Linked DNA regions of Homo sapiens: all the other regions are linked to region 3. The links are contacts of gene promoters, found by promoter capture Hi-C in blood cells and fetal thymus (Javierre and others, 2016). All regions are on one chromosome and are shown on one strand. The core of a region is centred on a gene start or on the middle of the fragment in contact, and the rest is flanking DNA. Distances in the headings are between cores, read along the strand shown. Region 1 overlaps WWTR1 (WW domain containing transcription regulator 1). Region 2 has its middle 33 kb from the start of COMMD2. Region 3 holds the start of WWTR1 (WW domain containing transcription regulator 1).

What was found. The method cuts DNA at HindIII sites, captures the fragments that hold promoters and counts their contacts. A CHiCAGO score of 5 or more calls a contact.
Region 1: a contact is called between a fragment that was not itself captured here and the fragment with the promoter of WWTR1 in region 3, in 1 of 17 cell types (endothelial precursors). The highest score is 5.8, in endothelial precursors.
Region 2: a fragment that was not itself captured here is called in contact with the fragment with the promoter of WWTR1 in region 3 in 1 of 17 cell types (endothelial precursors); the score reaches 10.8 in endothelial precursors.

Annotation. Positions count from the first base shown.
Region 1 is chr3:149,613,570-149,616,833 of GRCh38, reverse strand. All of the region lies in intron 2 of WWTR1 (WW domain containing transcription regulator 1), which reads left to right. Among named protein-coding and RNA genes, the nearest start is that of WWTR1-IT1, 37 kb to the left of the region's middle. The HindIII fragment of the contact is 2,801 bases long and covers 600-3,264 here.
Region 2 is chr3:149,717,464-149,720,714 of GRCh38, reverse strand. It overlaps a transcript of WWTR1 not described here. Among named protein-coding and RNA genes, the nearest start is that of COMMD2, 33 kb to the left of the region's middle. The HindIII fragment of the contact is 3,669 bases long and covers 1-3,189 here.
Region 3 is chr3:149,656,482-149,660,057 of GRCh38, reverse strand. WWTR1 (WW domain containing transcription regulator 1) reads left to right here and starts at 2,033. Exons shown (of 7, transcript NM_015472.6): 1 at 2,033-2,293; 2 at 2,749-3,182. The coding sequence starts at 2,752. It overlaps WWTR1-AS1 (WWTR1 antisense RNA 1), which reads right to left and starts at 1,848. Exons shown (of 3, transcript NR_040250.1): 1 at 1,350-1,848; 2 at 1-680. RefSeq lists enhancers at 1,180-1,389, 1,950-2,019, 1,627-2,206 and a silencer at 1,560-1,719. The HindIII fragment of the contact is 3,935 bases long and covers 1-3,576 here.

The DNA of each region.
Region 1 (3,264 bases), core at 751-3,250, 43 kb after region 3:
ATAACTTAGGTTCAGTTTTAGAAAGAAATCTGAAAATGACTTCTCATAATACCTGGCAGAATGAAAGAAATTTATTAAAAGAGAGGACAGCAGGCCAGGTGCAATGGCTCATGCCTGTAATCCCAGCACTTTGGGAGGCTGAGGCGGGCAGATCACCTGAGGTTGGGAGTTGGAGACCAGCCTGACCAACATGGAGAAACCTTGTCTCTACTAAAAATACAAAATTAGCCAGGTGTGGTGGCACGTCCCTGTAATCCCAGCTACTCAGGAGGCTGAGGCAGGAGAATTGCTTGAACCTGGGAGGCAGAGGTTGCGGTGAGCCGAGATCATGCCATTGCACTCCAGCCTGGGCAACAAGAGTGAAACTCCACCTCGGAAAAAAAAAAAAAGAGAGAGAGAGAGAGGACAGCCATTTTATTAGGAAAGTACAGAGGAAGAAATACGTAGTTCTAGCCAGGGGATTTCATTACATGGGATTACAGAGAAGGGTGTTCCCTGAACTGAATTTTTAAAGATAGGGTCAAATTTTCATAGGCAGAAAGAAAGGGTGGGAAGCGGACATTCTCAATTAAGGGGAAAAATGAGATCTTATGGAAGCTTTAAAGCCTGAGACATTTGAGGGAACAGAATTTGAGAATTGAGTCTGCGATGAGACAGGAAAAGCCCACAGGCAGTAAAAAATGCCGGTGGCTGAGTGCAGTGTAGCTTCCACTGAACTCTGTGGATGTTTATGCTTATTTGAACCTTGTTGGAATATTCCTGGTTTGTTTTATGAAGGGATGTCTCTCACTGAGGATATTGACTCAGGGACGTTTCCTCTTTCAGTCAGGATGGCCTCCATCAGACCAATATTGTTCTCAGGCCATTTTTTTGTTTTGTTATCTTGGATAAACAGAGAGAGGCTGATTCATTTTTCTAGAAAAACAGGATGCACTAAAATACTGCAAGTGACAATGAAACAGACATGCTCACGTACAATAATATTTATAAAGGGACCAAACAATATATGTAGCAGACACCTCTGTGGTGTGGCCGCTACCCCTCCTCCATCTCACTTGCCTTGAGTCCTTGGCCAAGTGGGTTGTTTCTTTCGATCTGTTTCCTCAGATATCAAATGAGACCAATAATACCAACTGAACAGGCATGTCTCAAGGAATTGATGAGTATCAAGTGCTAGAAATAGTGCTGGGCACGTAGTAAGTAGCCATTCCAATAGAGCTTAATTATTTGTGCACTGGGTACGAAATACTGATTCGTAATTGGAGCAATATATATTCACAATGATTTTTTTAAAACTTTGTATTATGGAAATATTCAAATATCCATAAGAGAACAGTATGATAATTTCCCACGTACCTACCATCCCTCCACTTCAGCAATCGTCCACATTCTGCCATTCTTATTCATTGATCCCCTTCCTCTTTTAGAAATGTTTTAAATTTGTAATGGTTAACTGCTACCTAAATTATTTTAAAGCAAATTCTGGAGAGCATATAATTTTGTGTATAGAGAGTTTTTAAGAGTCTGATAAATCAGTGACCAAAGAAGAAATCCTTATAAAAAAATGGTTGAAACCAGTGTTTTGAATGCAATTTTCAGAGCTGAATTATAGGTATTTCTGCAACCAAATTAGGACATGTCTGCAAATCTTTAAGAGTGGCATTTTGAAAGTTCAGTATTGTTTATTTCATTTAAGGAGCATGCCACATGCTGGTCTGCACATAGATTAGCACTTAGGTGCATATGCAAAACACTTTTTTCTAATGGAAGATTTAAAACATACCTCAATACTAGTAGACTAGTATAATGTACCCCCCTGTAACCATCACCTAAGCTATCTTTTTTTTTTTGAGACAGAGTTTTGCTCTTGTCTCCCAGGCTGGAGTACAATGGCGCCATCTCAGCTCACTGTAAACTCCACCTCCCTGGTTCAAGTGATTCTCCTGCCTCAGCCTCCCGAGTAGCTGGGACTACAGGTGCATGCCACCATACCCGGCTAATTTTTGTATTATTAGTAGAGACAGGGTTTCACCATGTTGGCCAGGCTGGTCTCGAACTCCTGACCTCAAGTGATCCACTCACCTCGGCTTCCCAAAGTACTGGGATTACAGGCGTGAGCCACCATGCTCACCCTAAGCTATCGTTCTGATGTCTCCTTTTGAAAGATGTTCATATTGTTTGTAAGAGACTTCTTAGGTCAAAAGAGCCTTAATGATTTTGGAGGAAGATGTAGAATCAAACATTTATATTACACTACATGAAAAGAAATTCTTATTCATCAGTGCTATTGCCTTTGAAAAGTACAGTCAGTACTGCTTGATGTGGGTATGTTCTGAGAAGGGCATCATTAGATGTTTTCATCATTTTGTGAACATCATAGAAAGTATAGTCTACTACACATATAGGCTATATGCATAGCCTATTGCTCCTAAGCTACAAAAACTGTACAGTATGTTACTGTACTGAATACTGTAGGTATTCAATGGTACAGTGGTACAAATACAATGGTAAGTATTTGTGTATCTAAACATAGAGAAAGGTAATGTGTTGTGCCACGACATTTCCACAGCTACGATGTTGCCAGGCAGTAGGAGTTATTTAGCTCCATCATGATCTTATGGGCCCACTGTTGAATGTACCATCTGTTGTTGACCCAAAAGTCATGCTGCACATGACTGTGTGTCAGTAATAGCTCTCAGAGGAACTGATTTTCCCAGATGAAATATAAGTAAAATCTGATGTTTGAAAGCAGTTCAAGCAAGACCCCTCAAAAGACATTTAAGCAAGAACACATTTGGAAGCCAGTACTGAAGTGTTAGTAATGGATAGGGAAGTTATGTATTTTCTCTTCTTTCTTTTTTCCATTCATCTTTCTCTCTCTCTCATTTTTGTTTATCTGCATTTTACAATTTTTTTTTTCACCGTGAGTGTGGATTTTCTTTCACCATGAACATGGATTATTTGATTGTTGAAAAATAACAAAAGCCCAGCTGGGTGTAGTGGCTCACACCACTAATACCAGCACTTTGAAAGGTGGAGGCAGGCAGGTCGCTTGAGTCCAAGATTTCGAGACCAGCCTGGGCAACAGTGAGACCTCATTTCTACAAAAAATTAAAAAATTAGCTGGGTATGGTGGTATGTGCCTGTAGTTTCAACTATTTGGGAGGCTGAGGTGGGAGGATCACTTGAACTCAGGGAGGGTCGAGGCTGCAGTGAGCCAAGATTGTGCCAGTGCACTCCACCCTGGGCAACAGAGTGAGACCC
Region 2 (3,251 bases), core at 106-2,605, 61 kb before region 3:
AACACTACCCAAAGTGATCTACAGATTTAGTGTGGTTCCTATCAAACAAGTAGGTTTTTTTTTTGCAAAAATAGGAAAACAAATCTTAATATTCATATGAAATTTCAAGGAACTCTAAATAGTCAAAATAATCCTAAAAGAGAAGAACAAAGCTGGAGGACTCACACTTACTGATTTAAAAATTTATAATAGGTAATAGTAATTAAGACAGTGTGGTAGTGGCATAAAGACCACACATAAAGACCAATGAATACAATAGAGAATCCAGAAATAAATCTTCAAATATATGGTCAAATGATTTTTGGTAAGGGAACCATGATTATTCAATAAGAAAAGGACAGTCTTTTCAACAAATGGTGCTGAGAAAACTAGATATTTACATGCAAAATAATGAACTTTTACCTTTACCTAATACCATACGCATAATTTAGCTCAAAGTAGATCCATGGCCTAAATGTAAGCCCTAAAACTATAAAACTCTTAGAAGAAAACATAAGGCAAAAACTTCACGACATGGGATTAGGCAGTGATTTTGTGTGATGACACCAAAGGCACAGGCAACAAAAGAAAAAAACAGACAAATTGGACTTCATGAAAATTTAAAAATTTTATATCAAAAGACACTATCAACAGAATAGAAAGACAGCCTACAGAATTTGAGAATATATTTACACGTCATATATCTGATAAGGGATTAGTATCCAGAATATATGGAGAACTCCTAAAACTCAACAACAAAAATACAAACAGCTCAATTCAAAAATGGGTGAAGGACTTGAATAGATATTTGATACTTCTCCAAGAAGATATACAAATGGCCAATCAGCACATGCAAAGATGCTCAGCCTTACTAATCATTATGGAAATGCAAGTCAAAACTATAGTGAGAGCCACCTGGACACCCTTAGGATGGCTACTATCAAAGCAATAGAAAATAAAATGTGTTTGCAGGGTATGTGGAGAAAATAGAATCTTTGTGCCTGTTTGGGGGATATAGAATGGTATAACCACTGTGGAAAGCAGTATGGTGGTTTCTCAAAAAATTAAAAATAGATTTACCATATGATCCAGCAGTGCCATACTCAGAAGAATTAAAAGCAAAGTATCAAAGATATTTGTATGCTCGTGTTCATACAGCATTACTTACAATAGCTAAAACATTGAAGCAACCCAAGAGGCCATTGACAGATGAATGAAAAAGCAAAATGTGATATATACTTACAATAGAATATTGTTCAGCCTTAAGGCTGGGCACAGTGGCCACGCCTGTAATCCCAGCACTTTGGGAAGCCGAGGCAGGTGGATCACCTGAGGTCAGGAGTTCAAGATCAGCCTGACCAACGTGGTGAAACCCTGTCTCTACTAAAAATAAAAAAATTAGCTGGGCTTGGTGGCTGACGCCTGTAGTCCCAGCTACTCAGGAGGCTGAGGCCCAAGAATCACTTGAACTCGGGAGGCAGAGGTTGCAGTGAGCCCCAAGATGATGCCACTGCACCCCAGCCTGGGCAACAGAGTGAGACTCGGTCTCAAAAAAGAAAAAAAAAAAAAGAAAAAGAATATTATTCAGCCTTAAAAAGGAAGAAAATTCAGGCCAGGCATGGTGCCTCACATCTGTAATCCCAGCCCTATGGGAGGCCAAGTCAGGCAGATCACTTGAGGTCAGGAGTTCAAGACCAGCCTGGCCAACATAGTGAAATCCCATCTCTACCAAAAATACAAAAATTAGCCAGGCGTGGTGACAAGCACCAGTAATCCCAGCTCCTCAGGAGGCTGAGGCAGGAGAACCGCTTGAACCTGGGAGGCAGACGTTGCACTGAACCGAGATCATACCACTGCACTCCAGCCTGGGCAACAGAATGAGACCCTGCCACAAGAAAAAAAAAATGAAGAAGAAGAAGAAAGAAAATTCTGAGGCATGCTACAACATGGATGAACCTTGAGGACATTAGGCTAAGTGAAATAAGCCAGTCACAAAACAACAAATACTATATGATCCCACTTTTATGAAGTACTTAAAGTAGTCAAAATCATAGAGACAGAAAGTAGAATGATGGTTGCCAGGGGTAGCAGGAAGGGAGCAATGAGTTGTTGTTTAACGGGCATAGAGTTTCAATTTTGCAAGATGAAAAGAGATCTGGAGATGGATGCTGGTGATGTTTGCACAACCATATGAATATACTGAATGCCACTCAGCTGTGCACTTAAAAATGATTAAGATAGTAAATTTTGTTACATATATTTTACCATAATAAACTTTGGGTAAAAAATTAAAATGAAAAGAACCAAAGTGAGATAGCAGAGGACCCTGTGAGCTGTTGAGCCTGTGTGAACAGAGACTAGTGGCCCTCATGGCATGTGGCTGAATGAGTGGTTGGTAACGATCTCCTGCTTTCTACTATCTGTTTCCTTTTCTTCCTCAGTTTTTTTCTTAATCTGCTTCCTTGAGAAAACAATCCTGCTTCTTTGAGATACAAAATTCCAAGTTTGATGTGGTGATTATGGGGAAAAAAAGAACGTAAGGTCACAATGAGAAGATGGGACACTATGGAAGGCCCTTTAATTTTCTAATAGTCACATAGACTTTAAAAAATAGTCTCTGGGGTCTGGTAACTTGGTAATGTCATTGAGTTATTATAAAAGAGTAAGCAATTTTATAATATATTTGTTTAGGGATATAATTTTGTATAATTTCCCTTGTTCACTTATTTTTCAGTATAAATCAGCCTTGATGATATGATCATTTCTATTTTTTTCTAAAATTAGAATAATAATAATACCTGTTTTATTAATGGTGATATAAAATCTAGGAGAAAAACATGAATGAATACTCACAAGTATTTACTACTTGTGAGTAGTAGAAAACATGTGAATACTAACAAGCTACCATAGTCTTGTTCCTGAATTTCCATAAGAGAGACCTTCCAAATGTATGAATTTTTATGTCTATATCTTAAGCCAAGAATATCCTTCTTCACTATACCCACCCTACACCTAATCAGGAAATTTTCAAAGTCTTTCAACATATTTCATATTCACAAATTGCTTATGTTGGATCATCACCCTTGTCCTTCACTTCTTGGGCACCAGAGGGCATACATCTTAAATCTCACTTTCTCAGAGACACAAATCCTTTTTCCCTCCACTGCAGGATTTTCTCCTCTGGATTTGCTCTGGCACCTCGAAGAAGCTTAGGGGAACAGTTCAGCTTTGCTCTTCCTGATAATTAGTGGCTTTCCTGATGGTGTGGTTCA
Region 3 (3,576 bases), core at 784-3,283:
AATCCCAGCTACTCGGGAGGCTGAGGCAGGATAATTGCTTGAACCAGGGAGGCAGAGGTTGCAGTGAGCCGCGATCATGCCACTGCACTCCATCCTGGGCAATAGAGTGAGACTCCATCTCAAAAAAAAAAAAAAAAGGATGATACGTGTATGCCTGCCTTAGTCTAAGATGGCCCTAATTTCTTCCAGTCTATGAGGAGTCTGGAATTGGAGCCACCTCCAAGTACAGATAACAGGGGAAGTGGCTCACTTTGGTGGTTCTGTTTTGGATATGGATGCAGCCATTCAGGGAGTGGCCCCAAAATTCTACCTTTTCCGAGGCAAAACTATGAGTGGCCTTGTCTTTTCCTTAAACTTTTCTCCTCCAAGGCAGCTCCAGATTTTAACTTCGACTTTATTTTACCCTGTAAAAATATTAAGGCAGGCTGGGCGCGGTGGCTCATGCCTGTAATCCCAGCACTTTGGGAGCCTGAGGCGGGCGGATCACCTGAAGTCAGGATTTGAGACCAGCCTGGCCAACATGGTGAAACCCCATTTTTGCTTTTAAAAAATACAAAAATTAGCTGGGCGTGGTGGCAGGCGTCTTAATCCTAGCTACTTGGGAGGCAGAGGCAGGAGAATCGTTTGAACCCGGGAGGCGGAGGTTGCAGTGAGCTGAGATGGAGCTATTGCACTCAAGCCTGGGGGACAAGAGGGAGACGTCACTCAAAAAAAAAAAAAAAAAAATTAAGGCACAATACGTGAACTTGAAGAACATACAGTTCTCTTTTATTTAACAAACACTTACGTAACCAGCCCGGTGCTGTGCGAAGTGCTTTACATTGTCTCGTTTGATTTACTTAATAAACTCCTATTTGAATCAAATGGGGTGGAGTAGGGGCTTCCTGGAATTTGGCTTACCTCGCCATCTCCCCCCACCCTTTCCCCTCAGTGGAGAGGCAACCAGAGAGAAAAGAAATTGAGCTGCTCTGAAGGGCAAGGCCTCCTCCTACTTCCCGCAGCTGTTTCGCCAGACTTGACCTTCTTCCCTTAGCTAGAGGCAGGGGGTCTCCATCCCTCGCCCAGATCTAGTTGGTGGGAAGGTGGGTGGCTTTTTTCGGGTCACTGGCGCACCCTCTCTACTTCCAGCCACCTGCTCGGGTTCCATCCCGGCTCCAGGCTCCCCGGAGGGCGGCAGGGACATTCCAATCCTCCCACAACCCTCACGGATGTTGCGGGGGAGGGGGGTGCAATTGCTCTTCTCTTCCAACACCCAGCTTTTTCTTCTCAATCTCTAGTGGCCTGAGTCACCCCCGTAGAGGAAATTAAGGATTGATGAATGGTTTGAAAGTTGTTTGTTTACAACCCACCCGTTGGCGAAGCCGCATCTCCAGTGACAGAGGCACTTTCTGGGCACCGTCTGTGCTCTAGCAGACAATTGAGAGCCAGGCAGCCAAGATGCCTCCTCGCCAGACCAAATATGGTCACAAGAGCTAAGCAGCCTCTCGTGGAAAAGCTGGCCTTGTTGGTGTCTCCCCGCGCCGGGGCGCACCCGGGCCGGCCTTCGGGCAGAATCGCGGGTCAGTGCGGCGCTCCGGGTGCTGCAGGCCTCGGCGCCTGGCTGCAGGGGAGGGCGCGGTGTCCAGGACCGGCCCTTCCTAGGCCTGAGCCCCTCATCCGCGTGCCCTCCGCCACCCCCGGCCTTGGTTTCGGTCCACAACCCCTTGATGAAACAGGCTCAGGCCACTTTCCCTTTGATCCCGCCCCAAGTCCGTGGTAAACTCAAAGGAATGCAGATGCAGGTCTGAGCGGGAGAGGTCCGCGCGGCCGGGAGGAGTGGGTGGGGGGCACCCGTCTCCTCTTACCCAGTAAAGTACCCATCACGCCCAGGGTTTTCTGGAGCCGAGGTGGGAGGAGGAGGAGGAGGAAGAGGAGGGGCGAGCGGGGGCTGGCCGGCTAGGGACTAGGAGGTCATACATAATTCAACAGCTCAACTTTCGGGCCCGCCTCTTTCCTGGGGGTGGGAGTTTGCTCCAAACTTTGTTTATGGGACAGTCCGGGAGCTGCTGCGGCCGCGCTGTCTGCTTCTCCTGCGCCTCCTTTTCGCCCAGCACTAGCGCCTTAGGCCAGCTCGGGGGATGTGAGAGCCGAAGCCCTTAGACTGCCAGGCACAGAGTCGGGTCGGGATTTGTCAGCCAAGCCTCGGCTCCAGCTCCGCAATCTCGGGACTCACCCGAGCGACCCAGGCCCGACGGCAAGTTCGGGCGGGACGGCGGCCGCCGCGCGCTCAGGCTCAGCTTCGCTGCCCGCCCAGGTAGTGCCCGCTGGAGCTCGCGCGCTCATCCGGCACCACTCCAGGGCTCCAGGCTCCTCGGGCTTCCGGAGTCGAGACGTGGTGGAGTTGGCTCGGGCTGAACTTCTTTCGGGGGGCTGCCTGTCCTGGAATCGTGCGACCTTTCCTTTGCCATCCTGCGGTTCAGCAAGCCCCGAGTGCAGTTATTCCCTCCACCCCTCGCCCTATCTTCTCCTCCTCCAGGCAACTTCTTTGCTTCAAGAAAGTTGCATAATTCTCGAGGCCAGGAGGGACCCCTCCCCCATCCTGCTGGTCTTACCGCTGAGTGTCTGGGATCTCCAGGCGGGCAATTATCTGTCTCCTCGTTTCCTTTTCCCTCTATTCTTTCTCCCACCATCTCGCCCTCTCACCCTGTAACCCTCTTACCCACTTCCTCCGACTTTAAATAAAAGGCTGATCTGACCTTCTTTTTGCAGAAGATGAATCCGGCCTCGGCGCCCCCTCCGCTCCCGCCGCCTGGGCAGCAAGTGATCCACGTCACGCAGGACCTAGACACAGACCTCGAAGCCCTCTTCAACTCTGTCATGAATCCGAAGCCTAGCTCGTGGCGGAAGAAGATCCTGCCGGAGTCTTTCTTTAAGGAGCCTGATTCGGGCTCGCACTCGCGCCAGTCCAGCACCGACTCGTCGGGCGGCCACCCGGGGCCTCGACTGGCTGGGGGTGCCCAGCATGTCCGCTCGCACTCGTCGCCCGCGTCCCTGCAGCTGGGCACCGGCGCGGGTGCTGCGGGTAGCCCCGCGCAGCAGCACGCGCACCTCCGCCAGCAGTCCTACGACGTGACCGACGAGCTGCCACTGCCCCCGGGCTGGGAGATGACCTTCACGGCCACTGGCCAGAGGTACTTCCTCAAGTAAGTCAGCCTGGAGCCGAAGAAGGCACCAAGTCACAGTGCCCAACGCGCGCGTGTGTTCGTGTGTGTGTGTGTGTGTGTGTGAGAGAGAGAGAGAGAGAGAGAGAGAGAAAGAGAGAGATGGTGCGTGTCCTTCCACGGTTATTTCACAGATATGGAGAGCTGGAAGCAGGGAGTGAGTCTCTGAGTGTTGGAATTGTAAGGGATCAGAAGCAGGGATCAGAAGCAGTGGTGAAGTTCATCCACCATAAAACACACAGGTGACTTTGCCTTGAATCTGCAGGACTGAAGCCAACTCTTGGGCACAGACCCTTAGTCCCTTCCTTGGCCACTCTAAGTCAGATAGTCCAGAGCCAGGCCCTTTGGGATGTGACACCGAGATAAATCAGAGAAA